Regions from separate parts of the Homo sapiens genome. Here region 1 is linked to region 2. The links are contacts of gene promoters, found by promoter capture Hi-C in blood cells and fetal thymus (Javierre and others, 2016). All regions are on one chromosome and are shown on one strand. The core of a region is centred on a gene start or on the middle of the fragment in contact, and the rest is flanking DNA. Distances in the headings are between cores, read along the strand shown.

Evidence for each region. Contacts are between HindIII fragments. The CHiCAGO score rates a contact against its expected background, and 5 or more counts as called.
Region 1: a fragment that was not itself captured here is called in contact with the fragment with the promoter of SYCE2 in region 2 in 1 of 17 cell types (erythroblasts); the score reaches 5.4 in erythroblasts.

What each region holds. Positions count from the first base shown.
Region 1 is chr19:12,810,194-12,812,966 of GRCh38, reverse strand. RNASEH2A (ribonuclease H2 subunit A) reads right to left here. Exons shown (of 8, transcript NM_006397.3): 5 at 2,759-2,773; 6 at 2,563-2,650. Among named protein-coding and RNA genes, the nearest start is that of RNASEH2A, 5.0 kb to the right of the region's middle. The HindIII fragment of the contact is 8,146 bases long and covers 1-2,773 here.
Region 2 is chr19:12,918,023-12,920,992 of GRCh38, reverse strand. It overlaps SYCE2 (synaptonemal complex central element protein 2), which reads left to right and starts at 1,700. Exons shown (of 6, transcript NM_001105578.2): 1 at 1,700-1,750; 2 at 2,656-2,771. The coding sequence starts at 1,736. It overlaps MIR5695 (microRNA 5695), which reads right to left and starts at 673; the gene lies at 589-673. RefSeq lists an enhancer at 1,881-2,020. The HindIII fragment of the contact is 4,677 bases long and covers 1-2,970 here.

The DNA of each region.
Region 1 (2,773 bases), core at 274-2,773, 110 kb after region 2:
GTGGCGCGATCTCAGCTCACTGCAACCTCCACCTCCCGGATTCAAGCGATTCTCCTGCCTCAGCCTCCCAAGTAGCTGGGACTACAGGCGCATGCCACCATGCCCAGCTAAATTTTGTGTTTTTAGTAGTGACGAGGTTTCACCATGTTGGCCAGGATGGTCTCAATTGCTTGACCTCGTGATCTACCCCCCTCGGCCTCCCAAAGTGCTGGGATTACAGGCATGAGCCACCACGCCCGGCCTCCTTGCCGCTCTTCTAAGGCTTCCTCCTGAGTACCTGGGGCACCTCCTATGGTCTGAAGCACCTTCTTGCCACAGGACCTTTACCTGGCCAAGAGCTGCTAAAAGGGCAGTGCAGGGAGACTGCCTCTGAGACATCTCCTTGACCTCCAAGAACAAGTCATTAAACATTTTTATTTTATTTACTTATTTTTTGAAATGGAGTCTTGCTCTGTCACCCAGGCTGTAGTGCAATGGTGCGATCTCGGCTCACTGCAACCTCCGCCTCCCAGGTTCAAGCGATTCTCCTGCCTCAGCCTCCCAAGTAGCTGGGACTACAGCCACCCACCACCATACCTGGCTAATTTTTGTATTTTTAGTAGAGACGGGGTTTCACCATATTGGACAGGCAGGCTGGTCTCAAACTCCTGACCTCAGGTGATCCACCCACCTCAGCCTCCCAAAGTGCTGGGATTACAGGTGTAAACACCACACCCAGCCTTTTTATTTTTTTGAGATAGGGTCTCGCTCTATTACCCAGGCTGGAGTGCAGTGACATTATCACAGCTCAATGCAACCTCTGCCTCCCAGGCTCAAGCCATCCTCTCACCTCAGCCTCCCAAGTAGCTGGGACTACAGGTGCGCACCACCACACCTAATTTTTGTATTTTTTGTAGAGATGGGGTCTTGTCATATTGCCCAGGCTGGTTGTGAATTCCTGAGTTCACATGATCTACCTGCCTCTGTCTCTTAAAATGCTAGGATTACGGGCATGAGCCACCTGGCCCAGCCTGTCATTAAATATTATTATTATTATTATTATTATTATTTTGAGATGGAATTTTGCTCATTTCCCAGGCTGGAGTGCAATTATGCGATCTCGGCTCACTGCAACCTCCACCTCCCAGGTTTAAGTAATTCTCCTGCCTCAGCCTCCCGAGTTGCTGGGATTACGGGCGTGTGCCACCACGTCCAGCTAATTTTGTATTTTTAGTAGAGATGGGGTTTCACCACGTTGGTCAGGCTGGTCTAGAACTCCTGACCTCAAAGGATCCACCTGCCTCAGCCTCCCAAAGTCCTGGGATTACAGGTGTGAGCCACCACGCCTGGCTAACATTATTTTTTTTTTTGACACAAGATCTCATCTTGTCACCAAGGCTGGAGTGCAGTGGCATAATCATAGCTCACTGCAGCCTCCAACTCCTGGGCTCAAGCAACCCACCCACCTTAGCCTCCTCCTCCAGAGTAGCTGGGACTACAGGTGGGCACCACTATAACCGGCTAATTTTTTAAATTTTTTATAGAGATGGGGGTCTCGCTATGTTGCCCAGGCTGGTCTTGAACTCGAGGACTCAAGCGGTTCTCCTACCTCAGCTTCCCAAAGTGCTGGGATTACAGGCATGAGCCACCACGCCTGGTCCCCTTCCCCTTAACAAAGGGACAAATGCCCACCTTGGGTCTCAGTCCATCACTGGGGCTCCAGAAAGACAGCAAAGTGGGAAGCGGGGAAGACAGCAGCAATCCTATGGCCTGGAATTCAGCTCTATCACTCACTGGCTGTGTGGCCATAAACAAATGGCACCACTGTCTAACACTTGGCCTCTTTCACTGTGGAGTAGGGTGACCAGAGCAATTTAGAAAACCTCCAGCCAGGCACAGTAGTTCACACCTGTAATCCTAGCTATTTGGGAGTCCAAGGCAGGAGGATCACTTAAGCCCAGGAATTCAAGACCAGGCTGGGCAACATAGGGAGACCCCATCTCTTTAAAAAAAGAAGAAAAAAAGGGCCAGGGGTGGTGGCTCATGGCTGTAATCCCAGCACTTTGAAAGACCAAGGTGGGAGGACTGCTTGACTCCAGGAATTTGAGACCAGCCTGGGCAACATGACAAGACCCCATCTCTATAAAAACAAAAAATAGGCTGGGCACGGTGGCTCATGCCTGTAATCCCAGCACTTTGGGAGGCTGAGCCAGGCAGATCACCTGAGGTCAGGAGTTCAAGACCAGCCTGACCAACATGGAGAAAACTAGTCTCTACTAAAAACACAAAATTAGCTGGGTGTGGTGGCACATGCCTGTAATCCCAGCTACTCGCGAGGCTGAGGCAGGAGAATCGCTTGAAGCCAGGAGGTGGAGGTTGCGGTGAGCCGAGATCGCACCATTACACTCCAGCCTGGGCAAAAAGAGCGAAACTCCGTCTCAAAAAATAAACAAAAATAACAAATAAAAACAAAAAATAAGCAAAATAAAATGATAAATGACAGAAAGGAAAAAAAGAAAACCTCAGAAGTGTGCTCAGCCCTGGCCATTTCAACATTAGTACCATGGTCACGTGTCTGCTCACCATTGGGGTAGCCTGAGCCATAATCAGTATCCAAGTCCTGCAGTTTCTCCACGAACTGCCATTTCTTCACGGCCTGGTCCCGGGCCACCTGTGGGCAAAACAGGCACCTGGAATCTCCCTCCTTCCCTTTGGTGGCCATGCCTGGCCCCTATATAGTGGGATGGTGGAAGCCAGCCATGGCTAGTAGGGTACTGACCTTGGCACAGATGCT
Region 2 (2,970 bases), core at 451-2,950:
TTACCTGACAAGCCTTCAGAATGAAGATCCAGAGATACAGGGGAAACTGTGTTTTTGTTTTGTTTTGTTTTGAGACGGAGTCTGGCTCTGTTCCCTGGGCTGGAGTGTAGGGGCGATCTTGGCTCACAGCAGCCTCAGCTTCCCAAGCAGCTGGGATTACAGGTGCCCGCCACCATGCCTGATTAATGAAAAGTGTCTTATGCTTAGGTTCAGCAAAGTTTGAACACCCAGGTAGAAATTTGATTGGACAAAAAGGGTTTGTCGTGGTTCATACTTGTAATCCTGACACTTTGGGAGGCTGAGGCGGGTGGATCACTTGAGGCCAGGAGTTTGAGACCAGCCTGAGCAACATGGAAAAACCCCATCTCTACTAAAAATACAAAAATTAGCTGGGCATGGTGCATCTGTAATCCCAGCTACTTGGTTGGCTGAGAATCGCTTGAACCTGGGAGGCCAAGGTTGCAGCGAGTTGAGATCTTGCCACTGCACTCCAGTGTTGCCTGGACAACAGAGCAAGACAAAAAAAAAAAAAAAAAAAAAAAGCCGGGGGGGTCGTCTAATACTAATAGGCTGAGTGGGGAAACCCAGCAAGGCCTATCTGTCTAGATTCTTCTTGGAGTCTCAGGAATGCATGCTCAGAGAGGCCAAGAAGAATCTAGATAGATAGGCCTTGTGTGGGGCAGAAACTTCTTTGAAACGGGGGTCTTATGACCTACAGTCAATAGGGTAGATCAGATAATTTCTTCTTTTTTTGAGACAGCACTTTGGGAGACCAAGACGGGAGGACGGCTTGAGCCCAGGAGTTGGGGATCAGCCTGGGCTCAGCACAGTGAGATCTCATTTCTACAGGAAAAAAAAATATAATTATGTGTGTGTGTGTGTGTGTGTGTGTGTGTATATATACATACAATCTTTTTTTTTTTTTTGAGACGGAGCTTTACTCTGTCACCCCGGCTGGAGTGCAGTGGCATGATCTCAGCTCACTGCAACCTCTGCGTCCTGGGTTTAAGCAATTCTCCTGCCCCAGCCTCCCGAGTAGCTGGGACTATAGGCGCCCGCCACCACGCCCGGCTATTTTTTGTATTTTTAGTAGAGACAGTTTCACCATGTTGGCTAGGCTGGTCTCGAACTCATGACCTCAGGTGATCCACCCGCCTCGGCCTCCCAAAGTGCTGGGATTACAGGCGTGAGCCACCGCGCCCGGCCAGAAAAATATTTTTAAATTAGAAGGGCCTGGTGAATGACACTGCTACTCAGGAGGCCGAGGCAGGAGGATCGCTTGAACCTGGGAGGTCGAGGCTACAGTGAGCTGTGATCGCACCACTGCACTCCAGCCTGGGCGACAGACCAAGATCTTGTCTCAAAAAAAAAAAAAAATTGTTATGGAGTATATTTTCCAAGGCAGAGTGGATGAAGTTAGAAGCACCGAATAAATACAGGACTCTGAGATCCGTATAACCTGGGCGCCCCGTGGAACCCAGGAGCCTCACAGGGGCACACAAGCGCACCCAGAGCGCGCCGTCCTGCTCCCAAGGGGCGCCGACTGCGCGCGCAGCCCGCGGACCGCGAAACTGCTGCTTAACGGTCGGCCCCGCCCAGTTGGCCGCGCAAGTTCTCAAAGAGGGCGGGGCCGGGAGCACGCGTCACAACACACTCGTCCGCGGGAGCGCAGCTGGCCAGGGGCGGGGTCGGCGCATGCGCAGAGGGTGCGAGCTTGAAGGCGGGAAAATACGGAATGGAGCGACAGGGAGTACGCGGCGCTTGTTTCCTTCTCGCGCGTGGGGCGGGCGGACAGATAGGCAGGGAACGGCTGCGATCCCAGCCATCTCCAGCGGACCCGAGCCCGGCCGCTTGTCCTTTGCCATTGGGGCTCCCTCTCATCAGGCCTGGCCTCAAATTTCCTGACTGACTGAACCCGGCCCTGACTGACGCACTGACGGGTCTGATTTCCACACATGGCGCGTGGCCGGAACGGAGTAGAGAAAGGCACAAACACCCACGCACCGCACCCGTTTCTTTCATTTCTTTTTTTTTTTTTTTTTGAGACGAAGTATCACTCTGTCGCCCAGTCTGGAGTGCAGTGGCGTGATCTCGGCTCACTGCAACCTCTGCCTCCCGGGTTCAAGTGATTCTCCTTCCTCAGCCTCCCGAGTAGCTGGGATTACAGGCACGCACCACCACGTCAGCTAATTTTTGTATTTTTAGTAGAGACGGGGTTTCACCATATTGCTCAGGCTGTTCTCGCACTCCTGACCTCGTGATCCGCCCGCCTCCGCCTCCCAAAGTGCTGGGATTACAGGCGTGAGCCACCGCGCCCGGCCTCATCTCTTTTCTCCTACCTCTTCTCCTTTCTCGAAGGACTCCAGCCAACACACATACCAGTTAGGAGCCCAGGTCCTCCAGTTACATTCCCACAGCCCTGCCCTCACCCGGCCCCTCTAGGTCTGGTGTCCTGGTGTCCCCTAGGGACAGAGTGTCCTTTCACCCCATGCCCCTGCCCTCATGGCACCTGCCCCAGCCCTGCCCGTCTTTCCTGCGGGTCCCCACCGTCCCGCAGCAGCACATCGAGGTGACCAGGGTTGAAGGGTCGGCAGGAGGGCGATCTGTTCACTCCTCATCCTCCCTCCTTGGCCTCCGTCCTGACTGTGCTTGCAGGTGGACGTGCCCCATGTGAAATGCAAAGACCAGGAACCGCAGCCCTTGGGGGAGAGCAAGGAGCATCCGCGGTGGGAAGAGAACTGCGAGGAGGAAGCTGGTGGAGGGCCAGCTAGGTGAGGAAGATCCCAGCCCTATGGGTCTACACAGGCCCCTGGGTCCCTCTCATTCACCCTTTTCTTCCACAAGGCTATGCCAGTGTCTGCTGCTTTTTTTTTCCCTCCTAACACAGCGTCTTGCTTTGTCACCACGCAGTGGCATGATCACGGCTCACTGCAACCTCCACCTCCCAGACTCAAGTGATCCTCCCACCTC